Linked DNA regions of Homo sapiens: all the other regions are linked to region 3. Evidence: promoter capture Hi-C in 16 types of primary human blood cells and fetal thymus (Javierre and others, 2016). All regions are on one chromosome and are shown on one strand. Each heading gives the region's core, a stretch centred on a gene start or on the middle of the fragment in contact. The rest is flanking DNA. Distances are from core to core; before and after follow the strand shown.

What was found. The method cuts DNA at HindIII sites, captures the fragments that hold promoters and counts their contacts. A CHiCAGO score of 5 or more calls a contact.
Region 1: a contact is called between a fragment that was not itself captured here and the fragment with the promoter of SPTLC2 in region 3, in 1 of 17 cell types (monocytes). The highest score is 6.4, in monocytes.
Region 2: the fragment with the promoter of PSEN1 here is called in contact with the fragment with the promoter of SPTLC2 in region 3 in 1 of 17 cell types (neutrophils); the score reaches 12.7 in neutrophils.

What each region holds. Positions count from the first base shown.
Region 1 is chr14:73,051,382-73,055,308 of GRCh38, forward strand. No RefSeq gene overlaps it. Among named protein-coding and RNA genes, the nearest start is that of RBM25, 5.2 kb to the right of the region's middle. The HindIII fragment of the contact is 4,879 bases long and covers 1-3,876 here.
Region 2 is chr14:73,134,830-73,138,758 of GRCh38, forward strand. It overlaps PSEN1 (presenilin 1), which reads left to right and starts at 1,678. Exons shown (of 12, transcript NM_000021.4): 1 at 1,678-1,754. RefSeq lists silencers at 1,458-1,537, 1,798-1,857 and an enhancer at 2,028-2,137. The HindIII fragment of the contact is 2,442 bases long and covers 426-2,867 here.
Region 3 is chr14:77,614,842-77,618,559 of GRCh38, forward strand. SPTLC2 (serine palmitoyltransferase long chain base subunit 2) reads right to left here and starts at 1,796. Exons shown (of 12, transcript NM_004863.4): 1 at 1,607-1,796. The coding sequence starts at 1,738. RefSeq lists enhancers at 1,053-1,262, 1,591-2,123 and silencers at 1,443-1,642, 1,783-1,832, 2,163-2,222. The HindIII fragment of the contact is 6,254 bases long and covers 1-3,479 here.

The DNA.
Region 1 (3,927 bases), core at 187-2,686, 4.6 Mb before region 3:
CTAACCTTGTGATCCGCCCGCCTCGGCCTCCCAAAGTGCTGGGATTACAGGCGTGAGCCACTGTGCCTGGTCTTTTTTGCCAATATTAAATACAGTTTTACTTAAGACATTGTATTTTCTACTTAAAGTGCAGTGCTTATAAGTGCAATGCTATTTCCTTCCCCTGTGCTCATGTTCCATATTCAAGATTTTTTTTTTTTTTTTTTTTTTTTGAGACAGAGTCTTGCTCTGTCACCCAGGCTAGAGTGCAGTGGCACGATCTCAGCTCACTGCCAGCTCCACCTCCCGGGTTCACGCCATTCTCCTGCCTCAGCCTCCCGAGTAGCTGGGACTACAGGCGCCCGCCACCACGTCTGGCTAATTTTTTTGTATTTTTAGTAGAGACAGGGTTTCACTGTGTTAGCCAGGATGGTCTTGATCTCCTGACCTCGTGATCCACCCGCCTTGGCCTCCCAAAGTGCTAGGATTACAGGCGTGACCCACCGCGCCCGGCCAACATTTTTTTTTGATGGTGACTTTCAATATATCAAAAGTTCTTAATATAGTTGGATTTGTCAATCTTTTCTGTTTAGGTTATGCTTATAGTATCTTCCTTAAGAAATCCTTCCTGTCGGGGCACAGTGGCTCATGGCTGTAATCCTAGCACTTTGAGAGGCCGAGGCGGGCAGATCACTTTTGAGGTCAGGAGTTCGAGACCAGCCTGGCCAACAAGGTGAAACCCCGTCTCTATTAAAAATACGAAAATTAGCTGGGCGTGGTTGTGGGCGCCTGTAATCCCAGCTACTCCGGAGGCTGAGGCAGGAGAATTCCTTGAACTTGGAAGGCGGAGGTTGCAGTGAGCCAAGATCACGCCACTGCACTCCGGCCTGGGTGACAAAGTAAAACTCTGTCTCAAAAAAAAGAAAAAAAAAAGAAAAAAGAAAAAAGAAATCTTTCCCTATCATGAATTCATAAGATGTTCTCAAAGTTTTAAGGTTTTATCATTGATAATTAATATGTTCATTTCAACAATTGCTAAAAAAGAATTCCATAAAATTCAACATCTATTGATGACTAATTTATTTATTTATTTACTTATTTCTTCTACAGAGTGGGACAGGGTCTCACTCTGTCACCCAGGGTGAAGTACAATGGTGTGATCATGGTTCATGCAGCCTTGACCTGTGCCCCACCATGCCTGGCTAATTACAAAAAAAATTTTTTTAGAAACAGAGTCTCCCTATGTTGCCCAGACTGGTCTCAAACTCCAAGACTCAAGTGATCCTCCTGTCTTGGCCTCGCAATGCACTGGGATTATAGGCGTTAGCCACTGTCCTCAGCCTAAGAAAAATCCCTTTAAAGATTTCCTATGTAGTCTTTTTATATTCCATATCTAATATTTCAATATCTGAATTGGGAATTTAAGTCTGTTGGTTTTGTGTGTGCACATGTGTGTATGTGTGTGTGATGCTGCATTTATGGTGGCTCATTCCTAATATTCTTGGCACTTTAATTTTTTTTTAGACAGTCTCACTCTGTTGCCCAGGCTGGAGTGCAGTGGAGCGATTTCAGCTCACTGCAACCTCCACCTCCCAAGTTCACCTGATTCTCCTGCCTCAGCCTCCTGAGTAGCTGGGACCACAGGCATGTGCCACCACGCACGGCTAATTTTTGTACTTTAGTGGAGATGGGGTTTCACCATGTGGGCCAGGCTGGTCTTGAACTCCTGAGCTCAAAGCAATCCACCTCCTCGGCCTCCCAAAGTGCTGGGATTAGAGGTGTGAGCCGCCATGCCTGGCCCTTGGCCTTTTTTTTTTTTTTTTTAAGACAGAGTTTCACTCTTGTTACCCAGGCTGGAGTGCAATGCTGTGATCTTGGCTCACCACACCCTCCACCTTCCAGGTTCAAGCGATTCTCCTGCCTCAACCTCCTGAGTAGCTGGGATTATAGGCATGCACCACCATGCTTGGCTAATTTTTTGTATTTTTAGTAGAGACGGGATTTCTCCATGTTGGTCAGGCTGGACTCAAACTCCTGACCTCTGGTGATCCGCTTGCCTCAGCCTCCCAAAGTGCTGGAATTACAGGTGTGAGCCACATTGCCCGGTCAATTTTTTTTTTTGACTAAGTCTCGCTGTGTCACCCAGGGTGGAGTGCAGTGGTGCCATCTTGGCTCACTGCAACCTCCGCCTCCTGGGTTCAGGCAATTCTCCTGCCTCAGCCTCCCAAATAGCTGGGACTACAGGTGAGTGCCACCACACCTGGCTAAGTTTTGTATTTTTAGTAGAGACAGGGTTTCTCCATGTTGGTCAGGCTGGTTTCAAACTCCTGATCTCAGGTGATCCACCCGCCTCAGCCTCCCAGAGCGCTGGGATTACAGGCGTGAGCCATCATGCCTGGCCTGCATTTTTAAATTTTAAGCTCACATTTGATATCAGAATCCTGAAGCCTAAATTAGGGATTCTTTTCTCCATGGGAACTATGTTTGCTTCTGTCAAGAGCCTAGGACTATTACTAACAAGGGAGCACTTTAACATCCTTTCAGAGTCCTGACTTAACTTGGTAAACTTCAGTTACTCCACCTTGCTGGGTAGTCCAGCCTTGATCTCTAGATTCTGTGTTAATGTGCTTCCTCTCTCTATCTTCTTCTCTCTATATACACATATATATTATATATATTCACATATATTATATATATAATGGCATTATATGTATTATATTTATATATTTTATGCCATTATATACTATATAATGGCATTGTATATATATATATATTTATGTATGTATATGTATTTATGTGTGTGTATATATATATATATATATATATATATATATATATAATGATGGCCATGCATACACACGCAAACACACACACACACACAAGCAATCCTCTCTCCTCATGATTGAGACTACAGGTGTGTGCTACTGTGCTGGGCTCCAGTTTCAATTTTTGAGAAGATCTGCTCAGTTCCAGCTAAACAACATTTTTCCTGGTATGCTGCTGTTTAGTTGGGTCAGATGTGGCCAATGAGAATAGGGTCCAGGCCAGGTGTGGTGGCTCATGCCTGTAATCCCAGCATTTTGGGAGGCTGTGGCAGGTGGATCACCTGAGGTCGGGAGTTGGAGACCGGCCTGGCTAACATGGAGAAACCCCACCTCTACTAAAAATACAAAATTAGCTCGGCATGGTGGCATGTGCCTGTAATCCCAGCTACTTGGGAAGCTATGCCAGGAGAATCGCTTGAACCTGGGAGGCGGAAGTTGCGGTGAGCCGAGATCATGCCATTGCATTCCAGCCTGGGCAATGAGAACAAAACTCCATCTCAAAAAAAAAAAAAAGAAAAAAAAAAGAATGGTGTCCAAATGCACACAGAATGTAATATCCAAATTAATTATCTACAGTTTCCTTAGCAAGGATTTGTAAGAAAAAAATAGAAGGAGGATAACTGGCATCGCAAATGAATGGCTTGGCTTGTTCTCTACAAGTGGTATATAAGTGTATCATTTAGAGTTCTTTCTGTGTAAGGAATAGAAAACTCAACTCAAACTGATTTCGGAAAAGTAATGTATTGGGTTACATACTGATAAGCCTAGAACAGCTGGCTTTAGGAGTAGCTGAGCCAGCCGGGCTCAGTGTAATCCTGGCTTTTGGGAGGCTGAGGTGGGAGAATCGCTGGAGCCTGGAAAGTTGAGGCTGCAGTGAGCCGTGATCATGCCACTGCACTCTAGCCGGGACAACAAAGGGAGACCCTATCTCAAATAACAACAGCAATAACAAACCAAAAAACAAACAAAATGAATGAATGAACCATTTTCTCAACTGATATTGTCAAAAATCTCTCACCCTGTCTTACTTCTGCTTTCTTCTGTGATTTCATTCTCATCCCCATCTATTCTAAGCTTAAATCCTCCTAAGCTTAAATTGAAAAAAAAAAATCAATTTAAATGA
Region 2 (3,929 bases), core at 428-2,927, 4.5 Mb before region 3:
TTGTACCATATTTAGTTTCCCAATTTTTTGCTATATAATATTCCATGAATATCTTTGCCCAAAATTTTTGTAGATTGTTTCTAAGAATAGTTCATCAGCATTTTAAGACATCCTATTAATATTAGCGGACTGCAATCAGATTGAAGTAGTTCACAAATAGATGGGTTTTAGCCTGTATTTGTTCAATACTGAACTATTGTATGTATCAGGCACTGTTATGTATCAGGCACTGTTCTCAGCACTTGTAAAATGTATATGTGCTGCTGACAAGCATGAGCACTTGTAAATGAACAAACTAAAATCCCTACTCTTGTTAAAGTGGGGGAGGTGAAGAATTTTAAAAACATCTTTTTTCGTTCAACCTTCTCCCACAACTTATCTTTCATTCTGCTAATGGAAAATATTACTTTTGTTCTTAAATATGAAGCTTTTGTGTGTAAAAAGTATTAGAATCTCATGTTTTTGAACAAGGTTGGCAGTGGGTTGGGAGGAGGGATTGGAGATTGATGCGATAGGAATGTGAAGGGATAGCTTGGGGTGGATTTTATTTTTTAATTTTAATTTTTATTTTTTGAGATGGAGTCTTGCTCTGTCTCCCAGGCTGGAGTGCAGTGGTGTGATCTCAGCTCACGGGTTCAAGCGATTCTCCTGCTGCAGCCTCCCGAGTAGCTGGGATTACAGGAGCGCGCCACCACACCCGGCTAATTTTTTTGTATTTTTAGTAGAGACGGGGTTTCACCATGTTGGTTAGGCTGGTCTAGAACTCCCAACCTCATGATCCGCCTGCTTCGGCCTCCCAAAGTGCCGGAATTACAGGCGTGAGCGACTGCACCCGGCCGCTTGGGGGTGGATTTTTAAAGAAACTTTAGAAGAATGTAACTTGCCCAGATACCATGTACCGTTAATTTCATTTTCGGTTTTTTGAATACCCATGTTTGACATTTCTCCGTTCACCTTGATTAAATAAGGTAGTATTCATTTTTTAGTTTTAGCTTTTGGATATATGTGTAAGTGTGGTATGCTGTCTAATGAATTAGACATTGGTACTGTCTTTACCAAAACTGGACAAAGAGCAGGCAGATGCAAAAATCAAGTGACCCAGCAAACCAGACACATTTTCTGCTCTCAGCTAGCTTGCCACCTAGAAAGACTGGTTGTCAAAGTTGGAGTCCAAGAATCGCGGAGGATGTTTAAAATGCAGTTTCTCAGGTTCTCGCCACCCACCAGAAGTTTTGATTCATTGAGTGGTGGGAGAGGGCAGAGATATTTGCGATTTTAACAGCATTCTCTTGATTGTGATGCAGCTGGTTCGCAAATAGGTACCCTAAAGAAATGACAGGTGTTAAATTTAGGATGGCCATCGCTTGTATGCCGGGAGAAGCACACGCTGGGCCCAATTTATATAGGGGCTTTCGTCCTCAGCTCGAGCAGCCTCAGAACCCCGACAACCCACGCCAGCGCTCTGGGCGGATTCCGTCAGGTGGGGAAGGCCAGGTGGAGCTCTGGGTTCTCCCCGCAATCGTTTCTCCAGGCCGGAGGCCCCGCCCCCTTCCTCCTGGCTCCTCCCCTCCTCCGTGGGCCGGCCGCCAACGACGCCAGAGCCGGAAATGACGACAACGGTGAGGGTTCTCGGGCGGGGCCTGGGACAGGCAGCTCCGGGGTCCGCGGTTTCACATCGGAAACAAAACAGCGGCTGGTCTGGAAGGAACCTGAGCTACGAGCCGCGGCGGCAGCGGGGCGGCGGGGAAGCGTATGTGCGTGATGGGGAGTCCGGGCAAGCCAGGAAGGCACCGCGGACATGGGCGGCCGCGGGCAGGGCCCGGCCCTTTGTGGCCGCCCGGGCCGCGAAGCCGGTGTCCTAAAAGATGAGGGGCGGGGCGCGGCCGGTTGGGGCTGGGGAACCCCGTGTGGGAAACCAGGAGGGGCGGCCCGTTTCTCGGGCTTCGGGCGCGGCCGGGTGGAGAGAGATTCCGGGGAGCCTTGGTCCGGAAATGCTGTTTGCTCGAAGACGTCTCAGGGCGCAGGTGCCTTGGGCCGGGATTAGTAGCCGTCTGAACTGGAGTGGAGTAGGAGAAAGAGGAAGCGTCTTGGGCTGGGTCTGCTTGAGCAACTGGTGAAACTCCGCGCCTCACGCCCCGGGTGTGTCCTTGTCCAGGGGCGACGAGCATTCTGGGCGAAGTCCGCACGCCTCTTGTTCGAGGCGGAAGACGGGGTCTGATGCTTTCTCCTTGGTCGGGACTGTCTCGAGGCATGCATGTCCAGTGACTCTTGTGTTTGCTGCTGCTTCCCTCTCAGATTCTTCTCACCGTTGTGGTCAGCTCTGCTTTAGGCATATTAATCCATAGTGGAGGCTGGGATGGGTGAGAGAATTGAGGTGACTTTTCCATAATTCAGGTGAGATGTGATTAGAGTTCGATCTGCGGTGGTGGCAGAGGCTTACAAGAAACACTAACGGGACATGGGAACCAATTGAGGATCAGGGAATAAAGTGTGAAGTTGACTAGGAGGTTTTCAGTTTAGAACATGGCAGAGACATTCTCAGAAATAAGGAAGTTAGGAAGAAAGACCTGGTTTAGAGAGGAGGGCGAGGAAGTGGTTTGGAAGTGTCACTTTGGAAGTGCCAGCAGGTGAAAATGCCCTGTGAACAGGACTGGAGCTGAAAACAGGAATCAATTCCATAGATTTCCAGTTGATGTTGGAGCAGTGGAGAAGTCTAAGCTAAGGAAGGGGAAGAGGAGGCCAAGGCAAACACTTAGGAACACTTGCAACGAGGGGGTGGAAGAAGAGCAAGGAGCCAGCTGAGGAGAATGAGTGTGGTTGGAGAACCACCACAGCGCAGGGTCGCCAGAGCTGAGGAAGGGGAGGGAAGCTTCAGGAAGGAAAAGGTTGGCAGGGATTTTGAGTGTTAGGCCTGGTGTAGCAGAAGGAACAGAAGATTTAGAGCAGCGCTAGCCAATAGAAATAAAATGTGAGGCCCGGGGCGGTGGCTCACGCCTGTAATCCCAGCACTTTGGGAGGCCGCGGGGCGGATCCTTGAGCTGAGGAGTTCGAGACCAGACAACACGGCGAAACCCCGGCTCTACAAAAAATTAGCTGGGCGTGGGGGCGCGCGCCTGTAGTCCCAGCTGCTCCCAAGCGAGGCTGAGGCAGGAGAATCACTTGAACCCGGGAGAAGGAGGTTGCAGTAAGCCAAGATTATGCCACTGCACTGCAGCCTGGGCAAAAGAGTGAGACTGTCTCAAAAAAAAAAAAAACCTGTTTTGTTTTTCTTTTGGAGAAAAGGCATACAAATTTATTAGCATGCAGACTGGGAGAACCACAAGGTGATTATCCCTATTTTAAATTTTCTAATAAACATACTATTATTTATTTATTTATTTATTTATTTATTTATTTATTTATTTTTTGAGACGGAGTCTGGCTCTGTCGCCCAGGCTGGAGTGCAGTGGCGCGATCTCAGCTCACTGCAAGCTCCGCCTCCCGGGTTCACGCCATTCTCCTGCCTCATCCTCCCCAGCAGCTGGGACTACAGGCGTCCGCCACCACGCCCGGCTAATTTTTTTGTATTTTTAGTAGACACGGGGTTTCACCGTGTTAGCCAGTATGGTCTCGATCTCCTGACCTCGTGATCCGCCCGCCTCGGCCTCCCAGAGTGCTGCGATTACAGGCGTGAGCCACCCTGCCCGGCCGGCTATTTATTTTTTTAGAGATGGGAGCCTCACTATGTTGCCCAGGCTGGTCTTGAACTCCTGGAGTCAAGTGATCCTCCCGCCTTGGCCTCCCAGAGTGGTGGGATACAGGCACAAGCCACTGTGCCTAGCCATAAACACATTTTTAAAGGTAAAAAAAGGCCGAGCGCGGTGGCTCACCCCTGTAATCCCAGCACTTTGGGAGGCCGTGGCGGGCGGATCATGAGGTCAGGAGATCGA
Region 3 (3,718 bases), core at 546-3,045:
GCGCCTGTAATCCCAGCTACTCGGGAGGCTGGGGCAGGAGAATCGCTTGAACCCAGGGGGTGGAGGCTGCAGTGAGCCGAGATCGCGCCATTGCACTCCAGCCTGGGTGACAAGAGCAAAACTGTCTGAAAAAAAAAAACAAAAACAAAAACAAAAAAAAAATCATACCTCAATGAAATTCACCTGCAAATGTATTTTCTAACTCCTACCCGTTAAATTTCCCTATTACATTCTATACCACAACAATTTTGTCTTATAAGTCGTTTACATTGCTAGGAAAACGACAAACTATTCCACTGCTTATAATGAGCTGACTGTTATCACTTCCTCCCTCACACAATTATTTCTTTAAAAGTGAAAACAAATCTTTTGATCTGTGTATTACTTCGCTTTGACACCTTACAACTTCAGGGGAGGTCAAGTCTGCTTTACTTATTTTTCCCCTCAACTCAGTCTCAATATCTCAACATGACCTGGAAAAATGCTTTATTTTCTGCTTCGCAGCAAACAGTAACAGACCTATCCATCATAACTACTCATCTGGGGAGTAGTTATGTTAAAGCCAAATTAAGATCACCATCCTATCAAACTGCAACAGTCACACTCCCGCTAAAGGGAAACAGAGTACTTTCTAAGCGTTCCTTAATATCTGTACAAGACTTAAACGTATTAAAGTCAACTGCAAAATTATCGCAACACTCTCTTCCAGGAACACCGATCTTGCATCTTTTTAACCAGCTCATCTTTAAAAACACATTTCAACAGAATATCTGTCAGTCCAGACCACTGTAAGGTTGATAATAAGCATTGTCTTGAATTTAGAACTTTTCAAAATATTTTAGAACTGCCTGAACTTGGTTGATGATTCAGCATGGTTAATTAGTATAGAGTCATCGCAAGTCACCACCAGGCTAAACAATCCCCTTGTGTGATAGCACTCGTGTTCAGGAAAGGGTCGAAGGGGCCACCTAATCCAACCTGGAGCCTGGGGTAGAGTCTCACCACCGGCAGAGTTAAGAGAATGATGCTTTCGAGGGACCAGCTTGGATTCCCTGCCAGATCTATGGACCAATGTCCTGGTTGGGGACTGAACGTGGTAGTCCAGAATGTGGTTGGGAGAGGCTGGGTGTGTTTCCATCTGACACCACCGCCTAATTTTCTTTGCTTCTTAAGGACCCCATGGGTGGTTTTCTTTGGACGACTGCAGGACTTTAAAAGGAAGCAATAACCTCAGGGGTTTGAGAAGGGACCCTCCGGAGCCCTTGGGCGGCTCCCACTGGAGTCCGAAGGGCCCCTCATCGCTTCCCCTGGGGACAGCACACACTTCTGGCAGAATGGGGCAGAGAAAAGTACCCGGAGCTCTGAGCAGAACCCAGAGCTCCGGGAGTAAGACCTCCAGGCGCGGAGAGGTGGGGAGCCCCCGAGCCGTCCTTGAGCCTCCAGGCTCGTGGAGGTCGGGCCAGCGGCCGGACACTGCCGCCCACACCTGCGAACGGCGCCCGCCCCGCGGATTGCCCAGCGGATGGCCCGGAGACCTCGCCCCGCCCGGCCGCCCCTCCGCCAGTCCACACCGCCACCCCGGCCCCGCCGCGCGGGCCCCTCGTACCTGGCCGGCGGCGGCTGCGGCTGCGGCTGCAGCGCTGCTCCTCACGTACCCGTTCCGTACTTCCCCGTTCGCCACGCAGCCATTCGCCCGCACCGTGCGGCGGCAGCAGCAGCCTCCGGGCTCCGGCCGCATCTTCCTGGCAGCACCAGGCGCAAGGCAGGCTCTGTAGGCGGTGGCAGCGGCGGCGGCTGCTCCAAGTCCCGCTCCGCACCCCACCCACCTCCCCGAAACCGGAAATGGCTGCAGCGCCGCCGCCAATTCCCGGGCGGGCCTTCACAGAGGGCGGGGCCCTCTCCGCAGAGGACCGGTCTCGGCCAAGGCCACGCAGCGAAGGGAAAAAGCGGCGGGGACCTGCCGAGAGGGATGTGGTCCTGAGGACCGCTGACCAATCTGGAAGAGAAGGAGGCGGACCCCATGCTGCTGCCTGGCCAATCACGGACGAGAGCAAAGCGCCTCGCCGGTGGAGAGGGGGCTTCTCTAGAGGGACTCCAGGGCCTGGCACCTGATTGGAGGCCGCATCCAGGTCCGGGGTAGGGCTTGCCTGTTTAATGGTCCAGACCGAGGAGGAGGCGGAGCCCAGGGAAAAGTAGCCAATTAGAGTGTGAGGAAATAAAAGGGGCTGAGCCGAAGTCTCTAGAGCGGGTTCCCAGGTTCTCCAGGACAGGTGGCGCCCTCTTTGCCCTTGCCTCGTGGGAAGTTTTGGAGTTTATGTCCTAGCCCAAGACAGGCAGCTCGCTTATTTAATTAGCTGATTCCTCTGTGAGTGTTTATAGAATAGATTTTTTGACAATCTCTCATCATTCTTCAATATGCGCCACACATTCACTATTTCTGAATTATTATAAGTAATAATTCAGATGCCTTTTCACGTGCCCTTCACATTTGCCCTTGGCAGGGTTTTCTATACAGTCTCCTTTAAATTAAGTCTTTCCTTCAAAGTTAGAAAACCTGGTCTAATTCCAACTCTGCCAATAACTGGAAGCTAAAACTTGAGCACTGTGTTTAACCACTTTAGAAGCCAAATTCTTTAAAATGGAGTTAATACTTCCTGCTTCATAGACTTACAGCAAGAATTATATCATTAACCCATTATGCACCTCTTATAATACTAGGCTTATAGTAGGAGTATAATAAATATTATTTTCTCACCCTTTTAGTTCCATCTTCCCATGGGGTTAGAAAGCAAGGAAATTGATCTACATTACAATTAGAGACTTTCTGTTATCCATAAAGAATTTAGTATCATAATTGAGAGTATGGACTCTGGAGTCGGTCTGGGTTTTAAATCCTAGCTGCGCCACTTACTAGCTGAGTGACCTCTATGTGTCTTCATCTGTTCAGTGGGGACAATAATAGTTGTCGTGAAGATTGAATAAGTTTATGTATGTAATGTATTTTGTACAGGACCTAGCAATTAGTAAGCATTCATTAAGTGTTGGTTACTAGTAATTGCTAAATGCACCTATGAGAATCCGTGCATTCTTTCCCCACCCTGCAGGAGCTTTAGAAAGGAGGTCCACAAGGTATTGGTTTTGCATGACTTAGGAGCTGAATAATCTAACAGAAGGTGGGATCATTCATCCCACACATCCTATTTGAGTTGACAAACACTATTGATCCCAAAGTGAATATACATCTGTATGTATAAGGCTAAAAAGGAAACATGTGGCTGTGCTTCATGGAGCTTACATTTCAGTGAGAGACAAGATATACACATAGAAAGAAAACAATAGTTAAAGACCAACCTAAGGCTGGAGAGATTAGGCAACAGGAGTTCTGATGAGGGAAGCTGAATGGCAGTGATGAGTCTAACCAGGTAGAAAGTTTTCAGGGCAGGAATCTGGATGGAAGCAGGGCTAAGGGATTTAACTGAAGCTTAGGGAGTGAGCTGAATGACTCTGGAGAAGGCTTGCGAGGAAGATGTGCAATGAGACAGATCTTGGAAGATGAGCGGGACTTGGAGAGCTGGAACTGAGAAGGATGGGGAGGGTGTTCTGAGGAAACCTTCAGAAACTCGGGTGTCGAGTCTAGAAAGATCAAAGCCTCACCTGCAGGCTAAGAGGAGTAAAGGAGTCTGGCTAGATTTGAGGAGTCCTGTTAGCCGATCCCTCC